Linked DNA regions of Homo sapiens: all the other regions are linked to region 2. The links are contacts of gene promoters, found by promoter capture Hi-C in blood cells and fetal thymus (Javierre and others, 2016). All regions are on one chromosome and are shown on one strand. The core of a region is centred on a gene start or on the middle of the fragment in contact, and the rest is flanking DNA. Distances in the headings are between cores, read along the strand shown.

What was found. The method cuts DNA at HindIII sites, captures the fragments that hold promoters and counts their contacts. A CHiCAGO score of 5 or more calls a contact.
Region 1: a contact is called between a fragment that was not itself captured here and the fragment with the promoter of SLFN5 in region 2, in 8 of 17 cell types (total CD4 T cells, activated CD4 T cells, non-activated CD4 T cells and 5 more). The highest score is 13.5, in total CD4 T cells.
Region 3: a fragment that was not itself captured here is called in contact with the fragment with the promoter of SLFN5 in region 2 in 2 of 17 cell types (total CD4 T cells and naive CD4 T cells); the score reaches 5.6 in total CD4 T cells.
Region 4: a contact is called between a fragment that was not itself captured here and the fragment with the promoter of SLFN5 in region 2, in 6 of 17 cell types (naive CD4 T cells, activated CD4 T cells, total CD4 T cells and 3 more). The highest score is 9.5, in naive CD4 T cells.
Region 5: a contact is called between a fragment that was not itself captured here and the fragment with the promoter of SLFN5 in region 2, in 1 of 17 cell types (total CD4 T cells). The highest score is 6.1, in total CD4 T cells.

What each region holds. Positions count from the first base shown.
Region 1 is chr17:35,515,017-35,520,232 of GRCh38, forward strand. The region is part of intron 2 of SLFN12L (schlafen family member 12 like); the gene reads right to left. It also overlaps the pseudogene TOMM20P2. Among named protein-coding and RNA genes, the nearest start is that of SLFN12L, 20 kb to the right of the region's middle. The HindIII fragment of the contact is 4,488 bases long and covers 1-3,581 here.
Region 2 is chr17:35,238,892-35,244,321 of GRCh38, forward strand. SLFN5 (schlafen family member 5) reads left to right here and starts at 4,181. Exons shown (of 5, transcript NM_144975.4): 1 at 4,181-4,252. It overlaps LOC105371932, which reads right to left and starts at 5,260. Exons shown (of 4, transcript XM_047437262.1): 1 at 5,220-5,260; 2 at 4,031-4,328; 3 at 3,735-3,934; 4 at 1,152-3,079. The coding sequence starts at 5,260. The coding sequence ends at 2,632. RefSeq lists enhancers at 3,933-3,992, 4,513-4,622, 4,596-5,224. The HindIII fragment of the contact is 6,062 bases long and covers 2,836-5,430 here.
Region 3 is chr17:35,614,829-35,620,010 of GRCh38, forward strand. The region is part of intron 5 of AP2B1 (adaptor related protein complex 2 subunit beta 1); the gene reads left to right. Among named protein-coding and RNA genes, the nearest start is that of AP2B1, 30 kb to the left of the region's middle. The HindIII fragment of the contact is 6,619 bases long and covers 1-5,178 here.
Region 4 is chr17:35,594,015-35,599,270 of GRCh38, forward strand. It overlaps AP2B1 (adaptor related protein complex 2 subunit beta 1), which reads left to right. Exons shown (of 22, transcript NM_001030006.2): 2 at 1-53; 3 at 4,216-4,321. The coding sequence starts at 17. It also overlaps the pseudogene LOC100420062. Among named protein-coding and RNA genes, the nearest start is that of AP2B1, 9.3 kb to the left of the region's middle. The HindIII fragment of the contact is 5,699 bases long and covers 1-5,256 here.
Region 5 is chr17:35,638,940-35,644,264 of GRCh38, forward strand. It overlaps AP2B1 (adaptor related protein complex 2 subunit beta 1), which reads left to right. Exons shown (of 22, transcript NM_001030006.2): 11 at 656-821; 12 at 2,938-3,036. Among named protein-coding and RNA genes, the nearest start is that of AP2B1, 54 kb to the left of the region's middle. The HindIII fragment of the contact is 2,341 bases long and covers 786-3,126 here.

The sequences.
Region 1 (5,216 bases), core at 88-2,587, 270 kb after region 2:
CTAACTTGGAAAGCTCAACTCACTCCTCGGCCAGCTTCTGTTTCTTTCTTTATTCTGGACGCCTATTCTTTAAGTTGGGGTCACTTCAGTCTTTTGCGGTCGAAGTAGATGCAGTACCCGATGAAAAGGGCCCCGAATACTCCAGCGGCGATGGCTCCGTTCCGACCCAGCCTCTTCCCCAGAACGCTGAGTGTGGACTGCGGCGGTGGGGGAAAGGAGCGGTTGCCCACAAACCATCCGAGCACAGGGAGCCGCTCAGACCCGACGCCGGCGGGACAGGCACTTGGAAAGCAAGATCCAGGGTTCTGAAGATTAAAATCGTTAGTTCATTTACTATATTTGTGCAAGTTTGAGAGAGAGTCATGTGTATAGGATTACCACTGAGTTTATATTATTTTCTCTATGCCTGGAGAGTGTTTCTTTTGTTTTAGTTTATTTGTTTGTTTTGATTTTTTGCTTGTTTGTTTTTGAGACCTATTCTCGTTCTGTCACCCCAGGTTGGAGTGCAGTGGCGTGATCTCAACTCACTGCCACCTGCGCCTCCCAGACTCAAGCCATCCTTTCGCCTCAGCCTTCTGCGTAGCTGGGATTGCAGGAGCGGCCACCACGCCCGGCAATTTTTTTTTTTTTTTTTTTTTTTTTTGAGATGGAGTTTTGCTCTTTGTTGCCCAGGCTGGAGTGAAGTGGCACGATCTTGGCTCACTGCAACCTCCATCTCCCAGGTTCAAGCGATTCTCCTGACCCAGCCGCATGAGTAACTGGGATTACAGGAGCCCACCACCACACCCGGCTAATTTTTGTATTTTTAGAAGAGACAGGGTTTCACTATGTTGGCCAGGCTGGTCTCGAACTCCTGACCTCGTGATCTACCCGCCTCTGCCTCCCAAAGTGCTGAGATTACAGGCGTGAGCCACCGCACCCCGCCAGTGTTTCTTAAAGAGTTAGCATATTTAAAGAATTGGATGTTTTGGGCTTAATTTCTTATTTTTTCCCTGGGATTCTTAGAGACCCCCTCTACTAGATTTATATAAACACTTAGTAACATCTTCAAACTGATCAATATAGGACCATAGAATTTGAGAGACATTAATATCCTTATTTTCTAATATCCACTGAAGATAGTTTATCTTTCTGAGGAAACTATTTCCCTTAGTTGTCCTTCACATATCACTACCACTTCACAAGAACAAACAGTTTTTGCAACTCTATTACTTCAGCATCAAAAAGGTTGGGGTCCCTACTAGGGGCATGGAATCCTCTAAGATTCTTCATTCCATTTTCCAGCTCCCCAGCATATAGGAACCTCAGTGCACCAGGCATTAGTTGTCCTAAAGCAAAACATTCCATCACTTTGATCAGATTAAAACTCTAACCAGTTCTGCCTTTCCATTCTGGAATACGTGTTTAAGAAGGATAGAACTATACTCCTTCTTTTTGTAGTACAGGATTTGTCAGCCTTGACACTATTGAGATTTGTGGCTGGAAAATTGTTTGTTGTGGGGGGCTATCCTGTACCTTCTAGGATGTTCAGCAGTATCCCTGGCCTCTATCCACCAGGTACCATTAACACACTCCCCTCAAGGGGTGACAACCGGAAATATCTCCAGATATTATGTCCCTTGGAGGGCAAAATCCACCACCCCCTCCACTCTATTGAGAGCCACTGGTCTAGTCTAATGATGAGCAGATTAATTTTAACAATGAGCAGACCTATTTTAATGATCCATATACCAGTGCCATCCAACAGAAATATAATGCAATACATAAATGTGATTTTAATATAGTAAGCACATTTTTAAAAGGTAAAAATAAATAAGCAGCTTTACTTTTAATAAAATATTTTATTCAACTAAATATTTCCAAAATATTATCATTTTGACACGTAATCCATTTAAAAATGATTCATGTAATTTTTCATTCTTTGTCATACTAAGTTTTTGAATCCCAGTGTCTATTTTACACTTACTTGTCATCTCAATTTGCACCAGCCACATAGCAAGCACTAATTTTCTACACATGGCTAATGTGTGCCATGGGCACTGCAGTCATATACAGTGACATCCCGCAAAAGCCAGAATAGTCAACATAAACAAATTAAGAAAACAAACAAATAGCAGTGAGGGCACAGATCTTGGTTTTTGCCATTCTTCAGTAAAAGGAACCAGAGCTTCTTGGAGAAATGGCTGATTTTAGGGCTGGGGCAGAGAAAAAAAAATCACAAGCATTCCTATACACCAACAACAGACAAGCACAGAGCCAAATCATGAGTGAACTCCCATTCACAATTGCTACAAAGAGAATAAAATACCTAGGAATACAACTTACAAGGGACGTGAAGGACCTCTTCAAGAACTACAAACCACTGCTTAAGGAAATAAGAGAGGACACAAATAAATGGAAAAACATTCCAAGCTCATGGATAGGAAGAATCAATATTGTGAAAATGGCCATACTGCCCAAAGTAATTTATAGATTCAATGCTATTCCCATCAAGCTACCAGTGACTTTCTTTGCAGAATTAGAAAAAACTACTGTAAATTTCATATGGAACCAAAAAAGAGCCCATATAGCCAAGACAATCCTAAGCAAAAAGAACAAAGCTGGAGGCATCACACTACCTAACTTCAAACTATACTACAAGCCTACAGTAACCAAAACAGCATAGCACTGGTACCAAAACAGATACATCAACCAATGAAACAGAACAGAGACCTAAGAAATAACACCACACATCTACAACCATCTGATCTTCGACAAAACTGACAAAACAAACAATGGGGAAAGGATTCCCTGTTTAATAAATCATGCTGGGAAAACTGGCTAGCCATATGCAGAAAACAGAAACTGTACTCCTTCCTTACACCTATACAAAAATTAACTCAAGATGGATTAAAGACTTAAATGTAAAACTCAAAACCATAAAAACGCTAAAAGAAAACCTAGGCAATACCATTCAGGACATAGGCATGGGCAAAGACTTCATGACTAAAACAAAAGCAATTGCAACAAAAGCTAAAATTGACAAATGGGATCTAATCAAACTAAAGAGCTTCTGCACAGCAAAATAAACTATCATCAGGGTGAACAGGCAACCTACAGAATGGGAGAAAATTTTTGCAATCTACCATCTGACAAAGGTCTAATATCCAGGATCTACAAGGAACTTAAACAAATTTACAAGAGAAAAACAAACAACCCTATCAAAAAGTGGGCAAAGGATATGAACAGACACTTCTCAAAAGAAGACATCTATGACCAGGTGTGGTGGCCCACGCCTGTAATCCCAGCATTTTGGGATGCCGAGGTGGGTGGATCACTTGAGGTCAGGAGTTTGAGACCACCCTGGCCAACACGGTGAAACCCCATCTCTACAAAAATACAAAAATTAGCTGGGCATTGTGGCAGGTGCCTATAATCCCAGCTACTCGGGAAGCTGAGGGAGGAGAATTGCTTGAAGCCAGGAGGCAGAGGTTGCAGTAAGCCGAGATCGTGCCACTGCACTCCAGCCTGGGAGACAGAGTGAGACTGTATTTAAAAAAAAAAAAAAAAAGACATTTATGCACCGAACAAACATGAAAAAAAGCTTACCATCACAGGTCATTAGAGAAAAGCAAATCAAAACCACAATGAGATAGCATCTCACACCAGTTAGAATGACGATTATTAAAAAGTCAGAAAACAACAGATGCTGGAGAGGATGTGGAGAAATAGGAACACTTTTACATTGTTGGTGGGAGTGTAAATTAATTCAACCATTGTGGAAGACAGTGTGGCAATTCCTCAAGGATCTAACACCAGAAATACCATTTAACCAAGCAATCCCATTACTGGGTATATACCCAAAGGATTATAAATCATTCTACTATAAAGACACATGCACACATATGTTTACTGCAGCACTATTTACAATAGCAAAGACTTGGAACCAACCCAAATGCCCATCAATGATAGACTGGATAAAGAAAATGTGGCACGTACACACTATGCAGCCATAAAAAAGAATGAGTTCATGTCCTTTGCAAAGACGTGGATGAAGCTGGAAGCCATGATTCTCAGCAAACTAACACAGAAACAGAAAACCAAACACCACATGTTCTCACTTATGAGTGGGAGTTGAACAATAAGAACACACGGACACACAAAGGGGAACATCACACACTGGGGCCTGTCAGAGGGTAGGGGGGCAAGGAGAGGGAGAGCATTAGGACAAATACTTAATGCATGCACGGCTTAAAATCTAGATGACAGGTTGATGGGTGCAGCAAACTACCATGGCACATGTATACCTATGTAACAAACCTGCACGTTCTGCACATGTATCCCAGAACTTAAAGCAAAATAAAATAAATAAAAAAGAAAGAGCTTCCAATGGCTAATACTAGAACAATTTGAGGAACTAAATAATGTAATATTGAAATATAACCCAAAATATTAAATAAATACCTATAAGTTCATTCATACAAGTAAAAGATTGAATGAATGAGTAAATGGAGAAAAGACAAGTCTCCTATACAGAAGAATTCCAAATAACTTATGTATAATAGCTACATCCTCTCTCCCCACATCAAGGAAGTGGCACTTCAATCCCCACCCTTTGAGTGTGAACTGCACTTATGACACCTGAGGGAGGAAAAGTAAATACGGTGGATCAACCTGGCAAACACTTTCTGACTCATACAGTCAAGGTTAATATCCACATGATAAGACATGTCGATCGCATACACCCCTGATATGATATGATGACAATTACAGTTCATCCCTGTGGTCTTCCTCTTGAAAATCTTGAGTATGAAAAATAAAATCCTAAGCCCCCCAACCACTGAACAGACCCTCTCTTGGCCAAGGGGACCCCAGAAAAACCTTAAAAGTTGAATTTGCAAGCATAATGGAATGGCAGGTCAGCCGCACCTCATTATAACCGCTCTCTTTTGCAGTTTAGACACAACAACTGACCAGCACTCAGGTTAAAATAAACATCATAAGACCGATGGAACAGTCTCTTCGTGGCAATAAGATACCAAGTTGTAAATAGGACCTAAAGCCTTGACAGGCAAGAATTGAGTCACGCGTCCCTACACTTAAAGAATAAACTATGTTCTAATAGCCACAAGCTTTTTCTTTTCTTCTATCAGCTAAACAAACACTGGCCTGGAGATAAGCAATATTAAAACAACTGCAGCGCATCCACTGCCAGACATGAACCAACTGACCACCTG
Region 2 (5,430 bases), core at 2,931-5,430:
AAAAGCTTAATTACTTACTGAGACAGGAAAATCATCAGGACACTCTCGGATCTCAATGTGGGTACTGGGAGTGCCAGAGAACCAAGATTCTCCCTCCCACTCTCTCTGATGTGTGTGATTCATATGAACATTGATAAAGGATGTCTCATCCCTCCTTCAAGTAAACTTGTTCTGACAAAATTTCACCACACTTTGTCAAATGGCAAACATTGTTCCTAAGAAACATCATATACGTGTTTATGCAAATTTTGTTTTTTAAACTTTTTATCAAGAAAAGAAAAAAAGTGGAAAATATGTTTTTGCCTGAAAAGTGAATATTATAAACAAGTAGCTTGGGTTTGAAAGATAGTCTGTGGAAACACAGATAAGGCTCTATGCTAAGATGCTTGCTGCTATAATCCTCAGTCCCCTAGTAAAAGTTTCTGCAAAAAGCTTGGCCAGCCATGATGCCATTGAGCATTGACCCCCATAATCAATCTCCCTGTGACTCTCACGGAGAATGCTGAAGCAAATTTTCTGTAGTGAGGGATCTGTAGACCATGGCATGCAGCCTCCAGTCTCACTGTGCAGACTGAGGACAGTGACACAGGTCATTGACACACGGCTGACCTAGGCAGTGATTCTCCCTACACTAATACAGTGATTCTTTCTGTGAGAGACTGCCTGCCCTTAATAAGATAACATGCCCCTTTGGCCGGGCACAGTGGCTCACGCCTGTAATCCCAGCACTTTGGGAGGCCGAGGCGGGCGGAACATGAGGTCAGGAGACTGAGACCATCCTGGCTAACACAGTGAAACCCCGTCTCTACTAAAAATACAAAAAAAAAAAAAATAGCTGGGTGTGGTGGCGGGCACCTGTAGTCCCAGCTACTCAGGAGGCTGAGGCAGGAGAATGGCATGAACCTGGGAGGTAGAGCTTGCAGCGAGCCAAGATCGAGCCACTGCTCTCCAGCCTGGGTGACAAAGCGAGATTCTGCCTCAAAAAAAAAAAAAAAAAAAAGAATAACCTGCCCCTTTAACCTACCAACTCTCTTCTCCTCTTTAGTTTGTTGAAGCAAAAACAACGTAAATATTGCATTAACCAAGTGTGTGTATGAGAGAGAGAGAGAGAGGAGAGAGAGAGAAGAGAGAGAGAGAGAGAGAATGAGCAGTTATGGCTCTTGGCATTTTTTACTGGACAAGGCAAACCTAAAGATTTTACTTTTAAACTTGAATTAATGCTGAGAGTAAGTCACATCTGCCCTCACTTCCCTCCCACTCCACACAAACATGCATACCACTGGAAAGGCAACATTTTATCAAAGGCATTTGGCGTTTTTCCTCTCTTATGACCCTCTAGAAGCTTGAGAATGTGGGAGAGAAGGGCTGGAACCAGAAATGGAGAAGTAGTGCTGGAACAATAATGACCTGAAAGCCAGTGGAACTGAGGTCTCCTGCAGGAACTTTTGGGGAGGCCTGGATACTTTGGAGACCAATGGGTATGGATGGAAAGAAGAGCAGAAATGATTCAGCTCATAAAGCAGTGAAAAGGAATGATCTAAGTACATGAACAAATCTTTAAAGCAAAATGTTAAAGTGTGGGAGCAAGTTCTACAGAACACATACAATATGATACTTTTTTTTTTTTTTTTAAAGAGACAGGGTCTCACTCTATTGCCCATGCAGGGGTGCAGTGGCACAATCAGAGCTCATAGCATCCTTCAACTCCTGGGCTCAAGCCATCTTCCCACTTCAGCCTCCTGAGTAGCTGGGACTTCATAGGCAGGCACCACCACACCCAGCTAATTTAAAACAATTTTTTTGGCTGGGCGCGGGGGCTCACACCTGTAATTCCAGCACTTTGGAAAGCCGAGGCAGGCAGATCATGAGGTCAAGAGTTCGTAGACCAGCATGGCCAATATGGTGAAACCTTGTCTCTACTAAAAATACAAAAATCAGCTGGGCGTGGTGGGATGTGCCTGTAGTCCCAGCTACTTGGGAGGCCAAGGCAGGAGAATTGCTTGAACCCCGGAGGCCGACATTGCAGCAAGCCGAGATTGCGCCACTGCACTCCAGCCTGAGTGACACAGCAAGACTCCGTCTCAAACAAACAAACAAACAAACAAACAATTTTTTTTTTTTAGAGATAGGGTCTTGCTATGTTGCCCAGGCTGGTCTCAAACTCTGGGCCTCAAGCCGTCTTCCCTCTCAGCCTTCCAAAGTGCTGGAATTACAGTCGTGAGTAACTGCACCTGGCCAACATGATGCCATTTACATGCAGCTTAAACGCATATACATGTGTTGAATCAGTGTCATGTGTTGATGAGGGACATAAACACATTTACTAAAAGTATAAACAGTTGCATGGGAATTAGTAACTTTAAATTCATAAAATTGTACTGGCTATCAGGTGAGTAGGGGACAAGTGGAATGAGGGAATGAGACCAGCTGGGTACCCAAATATTGCTAATGTTATTGCTTAAGCTGTGTGGTGAATACACAGGTGTTCAATTTACTATTATTTCGCACTTTCCGTGTACTTTAGCTATTTGACAATACATTTAAAAATCGAAAACTTATCCCATAATCCCAGGCTCCAGAGGTGATAGTAGGTGGTGTTTTCCAGACCTTTCCCGCTGCCTTGATTTTCTGTTAACTGGCCACCATCCTTGTCTCCTCGCGCTGCCGGTCGCTGCAGAACCCCTGCGCGGAGGGACTGCCAGTTCCCAGGAAGGTGCAGGACAGCTGGAGCCTCTTCTTCTCTGGGCAGGGATTTAAATGTTCTTGGGTAGCCTCGCCAGAGACCTGTGCGGCCCTACAGTGACCTTCTTTCCAGCCACTTTCCCATGAGCTCAAAGCTTTGGATTCTGTCACTTGCAAAGGGTCAGGCCTGATCCCTTGCGGGTTCTTGAGAAGTGAGTAAGACTTCCAGCGCCCCGGCCCAGACTGCGACGACCCAGACTGCGACGACCCAGTCTGCGCCTGGCGCAGGCTCCATAGACGGCTTTTCTTCAGCTCTGTCCACTGAGACCTCGAGCCCTTGAGCAGAAGATGGGAGAGAGAGGGTCTTGCTGGGCGGGCTCCAGAAGTCCTCCTGGCTCTGGGCGCAGGAGTTGGAAGAGAAGAGATAGAGAAACATCTACTCACCAGAATTGTAAACTGGAAGAAGGGTAGAGGAAAGGTGCCTAGAGAGGGCAGCTGGAATCAGGATTGGGCTGAATATTTTAGGAGTCCCCAAGTGCTACTTCTATCCGCTGGGAGCACGGGTTCGAATCTGCCCCCAGGCAGCCCGCTCCTGGTTCTCTTGTCCCCCTGTGCTGCGGCGGGGCCCACTTCGGCCCTCGGGTTCCCCGCACAGGCCACACAGGGCAGCAGCGCGCGCCGTACCCACGGGCAGTTCGAGAGGGCCGCGCGTGGCGGAGCCAGGCCCTTCGCCAGCGCCCAGTACAAATTTAGTACTAGAATTAAGAGAAACACACTGAAATCTGACAGCCCCGCCTAAGACCCGGGCGTGAGGAAGTCTGCGGTGGGTGATGAATACAAAGAACAGTTTCTCTTTCCTGTCAGTAAAACGCTGTTTCCAGAGCCTGCCAGGTTTCGCCCCAGTGGCCACACCTATGCCTGGCAGGTGCTGGTCCGAGCCCCTAGCGCCAGCAAAAGAAAGGAGGCGGACGCAACATTCTCGAATTACTAGGAGAAGGAGGGAGGCTTTCCCTTCCCCCCAGTGCCCCATGTACCAACGCGTCTCGCCATACCCCTTGCCCCTCTTCCAGCAGCTGACGGAGTAATTCGAGTAGGAATCGAAAGATTTGGAGGCGCCGGGGGAGAAACCTGCGGAGCGCTCTCCGAGCCTGTGGCGTCCCAGGAAGACTCCGAGCGGGGCCAGGGAAGTTCTCTGGAGGACATGGGGTGGATACCCAGGTCTCCTTCCCTGGGTGAAATAAGAACTGAAAATCTAAAAATAAAATAAATAAAATAAAATAGAAAACACAGAGAAGCAACAAAAAAGCGCTTCCCCTCCTCAGTTCTCCCCAGTCCACCCAAGGTTTACCAAGACTGTTGTAGTTGCAAGAGTGGGCTTCCGGCTCCACGTAACGATGCGATTGGGCTGTACCTCTGTCTGTCTCCTGCGCGATGTCCCGCCCCGGGAGGTGTCACGGAACTCAGCTGATATAAGCCCGGGATCCCGCCGGGTCAGGTTCTCTGCTCTGGACTTGGGAGGCTCCGTTGCCTGCTCCCGGAGGGAGACGCGCTGCCGAGGAGAACCCAGCGGGTAATGAATCCCCCGCGCTTCTTTGCCCAGGCCTTCCCCAAACCTCCCCCCGGTCTGCGCGGGTTCTCCTATTGGGCTGTGGTGAAGACAAGGTGCGGCGACTGCAGCTCCCCAGGTCTGGGCGCTGCCGGGAGAGAGTCTTTCCCGCTGGGGAGATTTAGTTTGTTGACTCAGGAGCACCTCCAACGACAGCTAGTGGCAGAGGACCCGGGAGCTGGGAGGTTCGGAACGCGGGGCGAGCTGGGGAGGAGGGAGAGGCGCCGACCCAGCGCAGCCTACATCTTAGCAAACCAAACCTGGCAACATTTCCCCACGGTTCAGGAGCACGAAGGACTTAAGGGAAAACGACGAAATCGGGGCTCCCGAGGATGAAGTTAAATGGGTTGTGGCCTGGGGACAAATAGGGCCAATGTCCAGTCTATTACAAGAGGCTTTGTTCCAGAGGCTTGCCTATAAGCCCCTGGCTTGGAACGTCAGTCTTCAAACTGTAACAACAGGGGCAGGCTACTAGGGTAGCCCACAAAGCCCTGTATCCCCCATACAGTGACTAACTAGAGCCCTAGTTGGTCATATCCGCAGTGGCTGAGACTGCGGTGTGATTCCGTTTCCCTCTTGCATGTGTCCCGGGAGCCCGAGTTGTCGAAGCCCAAATTCAGGCTCAGGAACCTGATGTGCTGTTGATGCCAAACACTGACACACAGATGCTTGGAGACAGAGGAAGATTTATTCCATTTGGCCAAAGCGAGAAGGCAAGAGGTCAAGATCTCTCAAATCCACCCTAACAAAAAGAAGTAGTGGGGAGTTTTTATGAGACCAGGAAGTAAGGGAGGGGGAATTTCAGGGAACCTCGGGGAAAAGTCTTTCTTCGTCTCAGATTACATCTTGAACCACCAGACTTCTGGGCGTCAGCAGCTGGTCACAATGCCCTTAAAGGCATTCATTCCTTCTGCAAAATTTTTTTCTTGACTCTGAAGCTATATCCTCCTGCTTGACAAAGAAACGGTGCATCAGCAGTTTATAATTATATTGCTAGAAAAAGGAATATTGGGCAAAAAGTGGGTAGTTAACATATGCAAATAAGCAAGGGCCTCATCGGAATTTTCATGGTTTCATCACTAAAAATGTTGGGGTGCTGAAATCTTGAGGGGCTCGGTTGCACCAGAAGGGGATCCTTTGTC
Region 3 (5,182 bases), core at 619-3,118, 370 kb after region 2:
ATAACATTTTTCTTCTCAGAAAGCAGTATGTATTTTGACTATGTGCTAGCCAGCACGTAGACACAGCATGGGATTATGATGGTGGTTCTCAACCAGGAGTGATTCTACTCTCCAGAGGACATTTGGCAATGTCTAGTAACATTTTTTTGGTTGTCAAACCTGATGGGAGGAGTGCTACTGGCATATATCGGGTAGAGTCCAGGGATGTTTTCAACATCCTTCAGTGTACAGGACAGTCCCCCGACAACAAAGAATTATCCAGCAGTAAATGTTAATAATGCCAAGGTTGTGAAACCCTGGATTATGGAAATAGCACTGAGGCTTCAGAGCCAGAGTGGCTGCTGTTTGAGTCCTGGCTTGGCTGCTTACTAGAAATGTGGCTTTGAACAAGTTATTTAAAATGAACTTCAGTTGTCTTATATGTAAAACTGAGGTAATAATGCCGATTTTAGTGAATTATTTTGAAGATGAAAGAATAATGTATTTAAAATTTTAAACTTTGCCTGATATATGGTAAATGCTTAATAAACTGCAGCTATTCTTGAGGAAGTGGCCTAACATTATGCACCTTCCGGTTGTTATAATCTTCATTTAGGCATTAGGAAGTTTACTTGTGTGGTGATTTGTTGTCAACCTAAGATGATAAAATATTGAAAAAATGCCATCTGTCTAGATCTCTTTCTAAGAATTTTTGTCAGAATATATTTGGTATTCATGTAGGCTATGTTAAACTGCCTATTAAAGGTAGGCCCAGAATGCATAGAAAAACTTAATGACTTAACTTTATTTAGTACGTTAATTATAGGATTGTTGTTATCCTTAAATATATATTAGTAAGTAACAATTACAAAATTAAAATATTATACATAAATGAAATTTAAAATGTGTAATACTTTTCATATCAAATGTCCATGAAGGAGTTAGAGCTGGCAGAATTTTAGGCACATATGATAATGTCAGTATGTGGTGAGCACTTGATAAGAGTAACATTGAAGGTAATACATTCAGTCTGTATCTGAGTTCCTCAAATTGTGTTTCATATTATAAAAGGAGCTGCTGTTAATTTTTGCAGGATTGAAGTTTGGGTAAGTGGAATCATTGGGGGCTGCTTTGATATGAGGCCAACTTCCCAGCTCTTGAATTTCCCACCAGTTGGTCTGAGTGTATTTCTGTCTCTACTTATAGAGAAAGCAAACACTTTTTGTTTTCCTTTTATAATGTGCTTTGTGGAAATCATTTTCTGTGTATTTTCACTTTTAAAAAATCATTACGTCGTTTTATATTATTATGAACTTAGGTTTTAAAAAATATCTCTTTTTTTTTTTTTTTTTTTTTTTTTTTTTTTTTTTTTTTGGAGACGGAGTCTCGCTCAGTCGCCCAGGCTGGAGTGCAGTGGCGCGATCTCGGCTCACTGCAAGCTCCGCCTCCCGGGTTCATGCCATTCTCATGCCTCACACTTCTGAGTAGCTGGGACTACAGGCGCCCACCACTACGCCTGGCTAATTTTTTTTGTATTTTTAGTAGAGACGGGGGGTTTCACCGTGTTAGTCAGGATGGTCTCAATCTCCTGACCTCGTGATCCGCCCGCCTCGGCCTCCCAAAGTGCTGGGATTACAGGCATGAGCCACCGCGCCCTGCCAAAATACCTCATTTTTTAGAGGAACAATTTTAAATTTACAGAAAAGTTACAAAGACAGTACAGAAAGTTTTCATATACGCTTCAGTCAGTTTCACCTAATGTTAACATCTTACGTAACCGTGGTACATTTGCCAAAACTAGGAAATTAGCATTGGGATGTTACTATTAACCAAAGTAGAATTTCACCAGTTTCAACACTAATGTCCTTTCGCTATTCCAGGATTCAGTCCGGAATACCAAATTGTGTTTAGTCACTTCCTTTTATAATGCATCAGTCTACTCTGTTTGAAGGTAGCTCGAAAACAGAAAAGTGCTTTACAACCATGAAATGGCATTTTTCATCCAGTCACCATAGCATAGTGGTTGAAACTCAGGCTCTAGAACCAAATAGATTTGGGTTTGTATCCTGGTTCTGCTATTTCTTAGACGAGTGGTGTCTCTAAATTTTAGCATCCTCATCTACAAAGTGGAGATTACAAATAGTGCTTCTATCGTAGGATTGTTGTGAATATTAAAGGACAGAGGGCTTGCAAAGCACTTAATACTGGTCCTCATATGGAGTAAGCCCCTAATAATAACAAACACATATCCTTTTTTTTTTCTTAAGAGACAAAGTCTTGCTCTGTCGCGTAGGCTGGAGTGCAGTGGCACAATCTCGGCTTACTGCAACCTCCATCTCCTGGGCTCAAATAATTCTCCCACTTCAGCCTTCTGAGTAGCTGAGAGTACAGGCACATGCCATCATGCCTGGCTAAGTTTTGTATTTTTAGTAGAGACAGGGTTTCACCATGTTGGCCATGCTGGTCTTGAATTCCTGACCTCAAGTGATCCGCCTGCCTCAGCCTCCCAAAGTGCTGGGATTACAGGCGTGAGTGAGCCACCATGCCCAGCAGAAACATATATTCTATATTGTACAGTGATTGTAGTGCCGGATATTAATAATTTTAGAAGGGTTAGTATTTCAGTGGCAAAATTTACTTTTTAATTTTATAAGATTAAAATTTTAAGGTTAAGATTAAAACTTTTAGGATGAAGAATTTTAAAGATTAAATTTTTTAAAGCTCTGAGGGCAACTTACCCACAAATGAAGCTAAATCTAAGAGTACTACTTACTACTTTTACAAGGTAATTATTCAAGGGTGTACGTTTAAAGTAGTTCTCAACAGCAACTTCCTGAAAGCTGGATCTGTTGTGTGTTGTTTTGGTGGTTTGCCAGTATATCAAGGCTCATTTGTCACTTTAAGATGACCTCAAGGCTGTAATTTGGCTGGGGAATACTTTACTCTTAGAAATGGGGAGATCATAAGTGGTGTGATAATAAGTGTTTTATTTTGTTCAAGTTGCAGCTTGCTTTAATGAATTTTAGGGGCCATGGTCCAAATAACTGTGATGGTTATAGGCATGCCTTTTATTTGTTTATCGATATTTATTTGTAGTGTTTTGGCTTTGAGAGTACTTGAATTTTGTTAAATCATATCTTAAACCACTTAAGTAATGAATTTTATTTTTTGTAAACCTTGTTACTATGTAATCAGACTTTCTTTTCATAATGAGATGTGTTGGCTCACTAGGTAGTTTTACCTCTCATTCTAAGGAAGAAGATGGGGAAAAAATGGAATATTCTAGATTGTAATGTAGCAGGCATATTAACAGTTGGCATTCTAGACAGTGTTTTGGATTAAAGTATAAGCCCTAAGTTTTACTTGTTTGACTGGTACTGCAGTCATTGTCTCCTTAAGGAGATAATAATGACTGAAACTCTCAGAACAAATATGTTGTCCTATGCCTCACATGTCATTTGAGGTCATTCTGTAAAGGAGATAGCAATATTCTAACACTGCTAATTTAGAAGAGAACAAAAATATGTAAACCACCTGTGTATTTCCTCATAATAGTTTTGGTCAGTTACTCTACTTCTTTCACTTTATTCAAGTCTTCAGGGATACCAGCCAAAATAATTGTAAATTGAGCAGAAAAACTGAAGCATAAATCTGTTCATAGTGTGTGACCTTGAAGGTCATTGCTGGAAATCAAAGTCCTGTAAATAGTAATTTACTTAACAGGAAGAAGTCACTGAACTGGAAAGTGGTAAGTTTCTAAGGTTCCAAGGCCACGAAAATGAGTGAAATTAGAGTGCAAGGTGAAAATCATTTTAAGGGACAGGGAAATGGGTGAGAGATTCCTCATAAGTGAGCTTATGTGTGTGATATTCCACTCCCAGTTTATATCTAGATTTCCTTTGAGAGTCCTTTTTTTTACAGGGTCATTTTTATTCTAACCATACCTACTGTACCAGCTCACTCCTTTTTTAACAAAATGAGGTCAAATTTATTATCCTCAACTGCTGCATATAAGACAGGTATAGATCATAAATCATATTTTATAGCTAGGTAGTAAATCTTTCCCTCCCTAAGTACTGTAGGATATGATTATCTCTGAAATGTATAAAGTAGAATACATTTTTCTCCTTGTATATAAATCTACATGTCACCTTTGCTGGAAATAATGTTTGGATTATATTATCCTCCCCTACTCTGAATCTTCTTTCCCTTCCCTTGGTTGAAGTTCACAAGTCTTGGAAGCTCTATAAATGCTGGAGACCAAGTATTAGTACTCAGACACTGGAATCAGATGCAGACCTTGAGTTCAGATTCAAGCAGGAATCCCTTTCTGGCTGTGTTGACCCTAAGCAAGTCACTGAACTTCTCTAAGTCAGTTTTGTTATCTGTAATAGGTGGCTTTTAGTAGCAGCTACTTCAGAGTTGTTATGAGGATTAATAGCACAAAGTAAATATTCAATACATTTTAGCTATTCCAGTCTTTTATCTCTGTAAAACTCATTCTATTAGTATAATGTAAGTAAAAATACAAATTGCTTATCATTAAAAATTCAGGCTGGGTATGGTGGTTCACACCTGTAATATTAGCACTTTGGGAGGCCAAGGCAGGAAGATTGCCTGAGGCCAGGAGTTTGAGAGAAGCCTGGGCAACATAGTGAGACCCTGTTTCTATTTAAAAAAAAAACAAAAACAACCAGCAGATTCCACAGGTCCATAAGGAAATATCATATTGAAGAGAAGTCTGTAATTAAGGCGGAGAAAGATTTGTCTAGGATTGAGTATGATTTTACACATCTACATGTGCTGCTTTTATATATATGTTTGTGTTTAATATCTATCTCTGTAAAGTATACATAATTGGGTTAGCTCTTTGAGGGGATGTGAGGGGTGGGGAATGTTTAGTTTCAGTCTCCCCAAGAATAGAATTTACCATAATTGGGAGGCAAGATGAATAAAGGATTTTTTTTAGTTTTTTATTTTACTTTTATCTTTTTGGAGACAGAGTCTCATTCTGTTGTCCAGGCTAGAGTGCAATGGTGTGATCTTGGCTTACCGCAACCTCTGCCTCGCATGTTCAAGTGATTCTCGTGCCTCAGCCTCCCGAGTAGCTGGGATTACAGGTATGCACCACCATGCCTGGCTAATTTTTGGTATTTTAATTAGAGACAGGGTTTCACCATGTTGGCCAGGCTGATCCCAAGCT
Region 4 (5,256 bases), core at 1,313-3,812, 350 kb after region 2:
TTAAAGATCCAAAGTCATGACTGACTCCAAGTATTTCACAACCAATAAAAAAGGTAAGTATGAGAATACAATCAAATCTTTTGAAATTTTCAAAAGTTGTAGTGTAAGATTGCCCCAGGCAGAATGCTGCTGACCTCTTCCTTCAGACATACATGTAGCTGACAATCTCACTGGACATCTACTACTTCTATAGATGAATGTATTCAAGCAAGTTATTAAAGAGTAGGTTTTAAAAGAGAGGGCTGTGATGCACATTATTATGACTTGAAGGTTCTGTTTAGTGAAAGAGACTCCTCTTTGCTGTTTGAGATGATCCATTGGAGATTGGTTAAGTGTGAGGAGGACAAAAGAAGCAGCATACTTTTTCCCTTTTATTAAATAATTTTTACTTGGAAATAAACATTTTATAACAAAGAATACAATTAAAGCAATACAGATATGTATGTAAAAGGTAAAAATGAAAGTTCTCCCTTCCTGTTCCTATTCCCAAGGGAACTTGGTGTATATCCTCAAGTCTTTTTCTCTGCATATGAGTGCATATATTAATACATATGATTTAAAATTTTTTTATCTTTAATGAAAAAGCAATCTTGCAAAACAATGAATAGAAATGAGTTATTTTCATATCCGTCCATATACATCTACCATGTTCTTCGTCTAGATGTATATTTAAAACGGAATCTCTAGAGCCATCTATGGTTTTTAGGTCATAGACGGAATTACTTGAGGGACTTTGCACTTATTACTCTCATCATCTTTGTTATCAGTAATATAATGCTTGTTTTTACCTATGAGTTTGGGTCTAGGAACAAAGGATTCTTCTGGGGAAAGTCCAACCCTTCATCTTTTGTAAAATTGTTCCTAAATAAAATAGATCATTTCTAGAAATGTGGAGGGTCTTCCCATCAAAGACAAACATTTTAGCCCATCTCAGCTTATTGTGCCTGTAGCTTAGCTTGCTTTATTTGTTGCTTAGGATCAGAATTCTGTGCTTTTGTGTTCAGGAGTCCTTACATTTACCAAAGTATTCCAGACATGGCGCCAACTACCATTCTTCTTTTTCTCTTGTTGCAGTGAGTTGCTTAATTATGTCAGTTTGTTGTCTGTAGCTTTCAGTCTTGGCAACACATCAGAATTGCTCAGCCAGGGAACTTTGAAATAATACTGATGCCTGGGTCTCAACCTCAGCCTGATTTCAGTTGTCCTGGATATGGTCTGGGTGTGAGGATTTTAAAGGTTCTCCAGGTGGCCAGGCATGGTGGCTTATGCCTGTAATCCCAGCACATTGGGAGGCTGAGACAGGAGGATTGTTTGAGTGCAGGAGTTTGAGACCAGCCTGGGCAACATGGTAAGACCCTATCTCTATGAAAAAAAATTTAAAAATTAGCCCTGTACGGTGGTGCACACCTGTAGTCCCAGCTATTTGGGAGGCTGAGGTGGGAGGATCACTTGAGTGCAGGAGGTTGAGGCTGCAGTGAGTCGTGATTGTGCCGCTGTACCCCAGCCTAGGCAACAGAGAGAGACCCTGTCTCAAAAGAAAAAAATTAAAAAGAAAGCTCCCCAGATTATTTTAATGTGCAGCCATGATTGAGAACTACTGCTAGCTGCTAACAGTGCTTGGTAGATTTGATTGGGGGGAGGAGGAGGGAGAAAATATAGGAATTTAATAAAGTTGTAGAATATATGACTTTGCCTCTTTTAGTACCCCTCTTTGGTCCTGCCCAACTTTTTCCTCCTTATTTTTATTACTTACACCTCACAAAAGCCATTAGCCACTTGTCATTCAGTCTCAGCTTTTTCTGATTTTCTTTTGGAAATATGTTTATTTCTTCTTCTGTTAGCATTTTGTGTGCTTTGACGAACAAAATGTCTATAATTATATAAAGGGATACAATTACAATTAAATAGTTATAATTTTAAAACTCTCCTAATTCTTCAAACCTACTCTTGAAAAGTGTCCTGGTGACCTTTTTTTAATTCAGGCATTTGTAAAAGTTTGAGACTGCAGATTGAATCACTGCTAATAAACATCATACTTAAAAAAAATTGATAGATTGTGTTCCCTGTACTTCCTGCAACACCCACCAGAACTGCCACTGAAACATATTCTTTAAATTTATGCTTTTGGAATTGGAATAATTTCTGTTACATCCTGCTTTGATTCTATAACACCTGCTGCTGTTCACAATTCAGACTTTCTGAAACCCCGCCGTTTGTCCTTCACTGTTCCCGGAAGTGAATGAGAGGAACTCTAAGAGCTGGATTTGGCAGGATGGGACATGGTGAAGAGTCCTATGAAGAATGACTCTTTAAAGGGCCCAGCTTTTCTTGCTATGCTACTTTTGTAGCTGTTGATTAAATAGAAATTTTGGAACAATTTTTTTGCCTTATTGGCCATGGATATTGAAACGAAAAAGTGCTCTACTTCTGTGTCTTACTAATTTCATCCTTTCCACATAATGGTTTCAGGCAAATCACGTAGTGTTTGTCCCCACTATTTCTTTCTTTTTTTTTTTTTTGGAGGAGGGGAGGTCAGGTTTTAATGTCCCAGTCCTCGGGCGCCGTCATCCCGCGCCTGCCAGGCCCGGCGGCCATGTCGCTCACTCGGGTGGCGGCCAGCCTGCCTCATCAGGGCCTTCCGCGGAGGCCGCCCCGTCGCCCTCGAGCACCAGCTTCACGTCCAGCTCCAGCTGCCCGGTGTAGAAGCCCACGGCGGCGCACACCCAGAGCGGGCTGGTGGCGAGTACAGCGCCCGCAGCTGCGCCCCCTAGCGTCAGCTGCATGGGCCCCCGCAGCGCTGCCAGGCCCCGCAGGCGCTGCCCCACACCGCACACAGGCCGCCCAGCAGGAAGAAGCCATATGCTGCTTCGTGATCCATGTCACTCTGCATGAAGGAGATAACCCCGATGCCCTATGCCAGGAGGCCATTGTGGAACCAGGAGAAGAAAGCTGTCTCGTGCGCCTTTCGGAGAGGAGCCTGGCGCCTGCACGGTCCAGCTCGGACACAGGTGGCGGCGAAGCCCCGTTGTGGGGGCCGTGGCCGGGGGCGAAGGACCCCTGGGCGCCCCCGCTCCGGGGCCACTGAGGCAGCAGTAGCGACCTCCGGAAGCGGAGACTGTCCCCACTGTTTCTATGCTGGTAAATGAGATCTGGTTGAAAGGAACGACAGGAACAGTCTTGAAGGTGGAGGAAAGTCTTTTGAGGCAGTATGGTAGATGAGCTGGAGGATGTAGATGGAAAGTTGAGATGGGAGTAGTCAACCTCTTTTTCATGGACTTAGTGTTTTTTTTCCGTTTCTTTTAAACAATATTAGGGTTGTTACTTTCTTTTTTATTTTGGTTCCGGCTTCTTGCAGATAGGTGAGCCTGGAGACCAGGCCTTAAAATAGTGGTTACAGTCCCTGACAGTTTACAGTGCGGAGCCTAAGCAGTCATTCAAGATTGTACCTTTGGAAATGACTCCATTGTGTACCATTCTTGGTTTCAAGATTATTCTTGTTTGATTGAATAGCAAGGGCCTTAAAGCCCACTGATTTATTAAAGTACTGATTAAAGTAGTGATTCTCAACATTGGGTGTGCGTTAGAGTCACTTGGTGGAGCTCTTAAAGGTATAAATATGAGTTCTCTTTGACATTATGATTTATTTGGCCCAGAGTGGAGCCTGTACTTTGCTATATTTAGTATTTCTCAGGTAATATTAGTGTGTGGCCAGGGCTGAGAACCTTTGCATTCAAGAGTCAGGAGACACAGTGCTAAGCCCAACTTTGTCACTGACTCTGTGAACTTTGAGCCTCATTTCTTAATCTGTAAAGCCGAGCGTGGGTAAATGAGGTAATACGCGCCTGCTCCCTACCTACGTTTATGTTCTCCTCCAGACTTTAACATTCTGATGGAAGATCATCCTTCATATACTGTTCTCTCCCCATTGTAGCTAGATATAATGAGATTTGGTTTTTCCCACTCTTGTGGTTCTTGAAGATCTGGATTGCACCTTCCTCTCTGGCCATAATTTAAAAGATTTTTAAAACTTACTGATGGCTTCCTTGTCAGTGAGTCAGGTAATATTCTAGGGCTTTGAATTTTATATATTCTATAATTTTAAAATCTTATTTTAGTTGCTGCCCTGCTATCCTGGTATTGGTTATTACATAGTGTAGTATTCTGCTCTAAGTCTGTGGTACTGGAACCTTACCAGTTTGCTCTCATCTCTTGCAGGAGAAATATTTGAACTAAAAGCTGAACTCAACAATGAAAAGAAAGAAAAGAGAAAGGAGGCTGTGAAGAAAGTGATTGCTGCTATGACCGTGGGGAAGGATGTTAGGTAAGAGTAATCACCCTTGCCATTGATCACTTCAGAGGTCCATACCCCATCTTATGGCCTTTACTGCTTTTCCTTTAAAAGTATCATAATCATAGAACCTCTAAGAATGGGTTTGTCCCACTAAAAACATCATTAGGAAGTGCAGTTGCCTTTGTATTAATGCTCTACTTTTTGTTTGTTTGTTTGTTATGGGGTGTGTGTGTGTTTGTGTTAGAACAGTGAAACGAGTTTGATTTCATTGCATTCAGATCTAGCATAACACCTCCTGAGAGCTGGCACAGTTACAAATCTTTTTGCTGAGGTCGTTTTAGAAGATGATAAAAATACACTGAGAAGCATAAGTTCACATGATCTTTAACTGGCTCAAGCCACTGCCCTCAACTTTACAACTGTACATTCAATTGCTGGATTCAAGATGAAAATCAATGTTAACCAAATCCATGTAGTCTTATTTTTTATTTCTGTAATTAAGACCATTTGGAAATAAGTAAGGACTATATGCAGGCCCCTAAGGATTATCCTAAGACCCTTTCGGGGGGTCCGTGAGGTCAAAGCTGTTTTCATAATAATACTTAGATGTTACTTGCCTTTTTCACTATTTGGATGTTTACAGTGATGGTGCAAAGCAGTGGTGGGTAAAACTGCTGGTGCCTCAGCATGAATGAAGGCAGTGGTGCCAACCATAATGGTAGTCATTGTATTCCTTAACACCATGTGCTAAAAAAGAGCAGTTTCACTTAGGAATGTCCTTCATGAGCAGTAAAAATTTGTTTTATTAAAACTTGAACCTTTTTAATATTGTGTTTGATGAAATAGGGATTACCCATAAATCTCTTCTGCTGCGTAGCAGTGCAATGGTCGACTTGAGAAAAAACCCTTGTGCAGTTGTTTGAACTGCAAACACCATTTTTATGTGAAAGAATGATTGACAGACA
Region 5 (5,325 bases), core at 706-3,205, 400 kb after region 2:
AAGGCAAAATGGAACAATAGGAAAATTTTCTAATGTACTTATATGAAAGATTGTTACAAATACAAGGTAGTGGTATTATCTTACACCACAGGTTAATTTTTCCTTGTAAAAATGGCAGTGTGGCTCGCACCTGTAATTTCATCACTTTGGGAGACCAAGGTGAGAGGATCACTTGAGGCCACAAGTTTGAGACCAGCCGGTCAACATAGCAAGACCCCCATCTCTACAAAAAAATTTTTAAAATTTAGCTGAGTGTGGTGGCACTAAATTGTAGTCCTAGCTACTTAGGAGACTGAGGAGGGAGGATCGCTTGAGCCCAGGACTTTGAGGTTACAGTGAGCTATGATCATGCCAATGCACTCTAGCCTGGGTGACAAGAGTGAGACCCTGTCTCCCTGTCTCAAAAAACAAAACAAAAGAACATCTGATGAATTTTTATAAAGGTTTTAAGGTCTAGGTCTTAAAAAATAATTGAAGGGAAATTTAAGTCATTAAAATCTTCTGACTTAAAACCTATTCATTCTCTTGACTAAAAGCTTTTACAGTTTGGTGGTTTGGTTTAGGGTCCCTTGTTTGTGGTTTTGCCTTTAGCCTTCACTGTTAAATTAGTTCTTAGTTTTGCCCTCAATAACCATAGTTCATTTTTTTTCATCAGGTATGAAAGTATCATCGCCACTCTGTGTGAGAACTTAGACTCGCTGGATGAGCCAGATGCTCGAGCAGCTATGATTTGGATTGTGGGAGAATATGCTGAAAGAATTGACAATGCAGATGAGTTACTAGAAAGCTTCCTGGAGGGTTTTCACGATGAAAGCACCCAGGTAAGTTCTTGTCTCTTGTCTATCCTAGTAGTTTTAGATGTCTTTGGGGAGATTTCAGAGAAAGCAAAGGTTATAGGCAGTTTCTTCTGTGTCTGTATTTACATATAGTATGTTCATTTTTCTCCCAACAGGGATGTCTCTTCTCAGTTTTACTAATTTTTTGTTTTTGTTTTCGAGACAGAGTCTCGCTTTGTTGTCCAGGCTGGAGTGCAGTGGCAGGATCTTGGCTCACTGCAACCTTTGCCTCCTGGGTTCAAGCGATTCTCCTGCTTCAGCCTCCCAAGTAGCTGGGATTATAGGTGTGCACCACCACACCTGGCTAATTTTTATATTTTTAGTGGAGACAGGGTTTCACCATGTTGGCCAGGCTGGTCTTGAACTCCTGAACTTAGGTGATCCACCCGCCTCGGCCTCCCAGAGTGCTGGGATTACGGGCATGAGCCACTATGCCTGGCCAGTTTTACTGATTTTTTTTTTTTTTTTTTTTTTTTTTTTGAGACAGTTTCACTCTTGTTGCCAAGGCTGGAGTGTAGTGGCAGGATTGTGGCTCACTGCAACCTCTGCCTCCTAGGTTCAGGCGATTCTCCCACCTCAGCCTCTCGAGTAGCTGGGATTACAGGCATTCACCATCACTCCCAACTAATTTTTTGTATTTTTAGTAGAGACAGGGTTTCACCATGTTGGCCAGGCTGGTCTCGAACTCCTGACCTTAGGCGATCCACTTACCTCGGCTTCCCAAAGTGCTGGGATCACAGGTGTGAGCCACCTTGCCTGGCCAGTTTTACTGATTTCTAATGTTAAAAACCTACATAACTCAGACCAGTAGTTCTCAAACTTCAGTGAGCATTATTAACACCTGGGGGGCATTTTTAAAGCACATGTTGCTGGGCTTCACCCTGAGAGTATCTGACTCAGTAGGTCTGAGATGTGCCTAAGTATTTGCATGTCTTACAAGGTTCAGGGTGATGCTGCTGCTGGCAATCCGGAACCACACATTGACAACCACTGGCTTAGAGCAGTAGTTACCACTACTTTTTTATTTTCTGTCACCTAAGAATGACTACACATTTCTGTTAGTAATGGCTGTGGCTCATTACAGCAGGGATTTTCGCTAGAGGCTGTGGTGAGGTTTGAAAAGATTATCTTTGGATGAAAATTCTGAGACTGCTTCTCACTTTCCCCTACCAAAATTAGAGCCACAGAACCAGGAAGCCAATAAATTATTAAGCCCTTTTTTCTTGGCATTTGTACTCAAAGCAAATAGAAAATAATGTATGTAATCTACTATAGCAATTTTAATAGACCTAATTCAAGGAGTATGTACAAGTCAATAGCTTTGTGGTTTAGCAGCCAACTCCTAATAGGCTGTAATCTGACATAATTCTACTGTCTTGGCTCTTGCCCCAGTACGACAGATGATTCCATAATTCCCCCCAAATTGTAGCTTTTGGTAGAAGTAAATAATGAAAGACTTGCTCAGGAGCCAATTTTATCACCATCAGTATGTTAACATATACTTTAAGAAATACAAGCCAGGCTCGGTTACTCATGCCTGTAATCCCAGCACTTTGGAAGGCTGATGCGGGAGAATCGCTTCAAGCCAGGGCTATGAGACCAGCCCTGGCAACATTGCAAGACTACATCTCTACAAACAATACAAAAATTTTAAAAATTAGTTGTAGTGGCTTGCACCTGTAGTCCCAGCTACTTGGGAAGCTGAGGCAGGAGGATTGCTTGAGTCCAGGAGTTTGAGGCTACAATGAGCTATGGATGTGCAGCCTGGGCAATAGAGGGAGACCTTGTCTCAAAATAATAATAGTAATAATAATAATAATAAACACAGGTAACTATCTGTCTTAGAAACAAGCAATATTTTGTGCCAAAAATGCATTTCGAGGTTAAAAGGGTAGAGTTTTCGGTTGAATACCTTTGTATTTCCCACGAATACTTTTGACTGCTGTTGTTGATATTGATTGAGTTTCAGCCTTTTGTCTCTTAACCAAAATCAGAAAGGCTCCATAGTAATTCATAGTTGGGGAAACACCACTTTGGAGATGATGGCAGGGAATAATGCCAGTGCCATTCTTTCACACTATCACAAATTATGTCTGTTTAGGTGCAGCTCACTCTGCTTACTGCCATAGTGAAGCTGTTTCTCAAGAAACCATCAGAAACACAGGAGCTAGTCCAGCAGGTCTTGAGTTTGGCAACACAGGTAAGAAATCTGGAAAAAGCAAGATGTTGATTTGTCTTGTTTCAAATTGTAGGAAATTATGAAACTCTTCCTAGGGGATTCATTTGGGGAAGCTTTATTTGAAGGAAGTATGGCCTTTAGATCCTGTTAAAATATTAAAACAATGCCTTTTTACGTGTTCAACTGAATTGTAGCTAATTCTGTGGCTTTTAAATGAGTTGACTGATTCCAGTTTTCATAATTCATGAAAATTGAACCTAGACTCTTAGTTTAGTGAAGGACATACTTAGATGAAAATGACGTGATCTGATAGTACCTGCTTCACTGTGACTTCATTTCAGCTTTCAAATGAAAGTACCATGTGGAGATAATAGATGCCTCAGTAAAGTTTCATGCATTGTTCTACCTTCCAGAGTAGTTGCCTTTCTCACAGAAATTAAGTGTTTATGCTGCTTCCTTGTATTATTTGATATATTTGGATCTCCTTGGAATTATTTGTTTTTTTAGGTCAGAAGAAAAGAAGTTTAGATGGATTCAGATCTCAGGAAAGTGGCAGCTGGCTTTAAATATCAGGTCATTATATTAGATCCACAGAAATCAAAATAATTAGGTTTTCTAGTGTAACTAGTATAATGATCATCAGTCCATTGATGATTTAGTAATGTTCATAAATGGATTTGCTAACAGGCCGGCTTTTTAGCAGGCTGTCAGAGTTACGATGTGTGTCTGCAAATGGAATATGATTCAGATATCCAGTTTACCATTTTTCTGTCTTTGTCATCCCTTTATACTGGTGTGTAATCAAAATTTAAAACCCTTTCACAGTACTTTGCCTAGTTCTGAGCCATAATTTTTCCTGTTACTACAACTTAAAAAAATGTATTTGTATGAGCTTTTTGAAGTATTTTAAAAACTTTCTTAAGCATCTTCCTCTGCCTGAAGCAAAGCAATTATAAACATCAGTGGTTAATATTATCTGTATTGAATTGAGCATTCTAATTTCCTGGATCCCATTTGCATCTCTAAGATGAATTCAAAACAATTTCTTTATTCCTCCCACACCCCCCACAGCCTTTTTTTTTTTTTTGTACTCTGTTTCATGTTTTAATTTTAAACTCCTAAGTCAGGAGTGTCCAGTCTTTTGGCTTCCCTGGGCCACATTGGGAGGAGAATTGAGAATTGTCTTGGGCCACACATAAAATACACTCACAATAGCTGATGAGCTAAAAAAAAAAAATCACAAAAGAATCTCATAATGTTTTAAGAAGGTTTACGAATTTGTATTGGGTCACATGTGGCCTCAGGTTGGACAAGCTTGCTGTAAGTGGTCACATAGAATGACATTATTAGAGCAGCTCACATTCTGTCAAAACAATTTCTAAAGAGAATTTTGGCCTTTCTTCCTCTCTGCTTACTGTAAATATTCAAGCAAGTATGTTTAGTAGTTTCCTCTGTTTTCACAAGTTCTCAACCTTATCATCATTGTCTGTTAAAGCCTATGTGATTGTATTTAACAGGCACCATAGGAGAGCTGTATTACGAATTCTGGCCAGACTTCAAACTCAGTCTCATTACCTCTTAAGTATTTATCAAAATTTGACTGAGATAAAGTATTTAGGAAGGATTGCTTAAAGGATACAAGGTAGTGCTGTTCTTACAGATAGTCTGAAATTCACCTCTGAATCAAGCATTATTAATAGACATCTGGATACCTGGACTGCATTGTTTTTGACCCCTAATAAAATTGCTTTTACTAAATTACGCTGATACTAAAATACTATCAGTCTGTAGTAATAACAGTCGTCATGGGAAACTACCCTATTTGGATCTGTTGTTAGCTTGTTATCAGAGTCATTACTTACTTCATTATGTTTTCTTCTTTATGAAGCCCCATCAAATTTCTAACAAGTTTTGGATTTTTCTGTGTATCAGTGTAGCATGCCTGATCAGCTTTCTTTTCCATATTGGTTGTTTGAAACCTTAGAATCACATTTAACAATCTCCCATGGAAACTATGTAGGCCACTGTGGCATGCAGTTTCCTGACTCTGGGTTTAATTAACGCTCTTTAGCCTTAGATGCATTTTTCATAAGCTTCCTAGAACAGGACAGGCTAGAAACTCACTTAATCCTAGTAAGGGTTAGTAAACGATTTCTATTTTATAGATGAGGAAACTCAGAGAGGCCTAATTATTATGGGGCAGAACTAGGACTCAGACTCAGATAGTCTGGCTCTAGGTCTTGCCCATGGTCTTGTCCACTGTGCTATGCTTCCTCTCTAGTCTGAAGGTTAAGAATGACTTGGAGAATA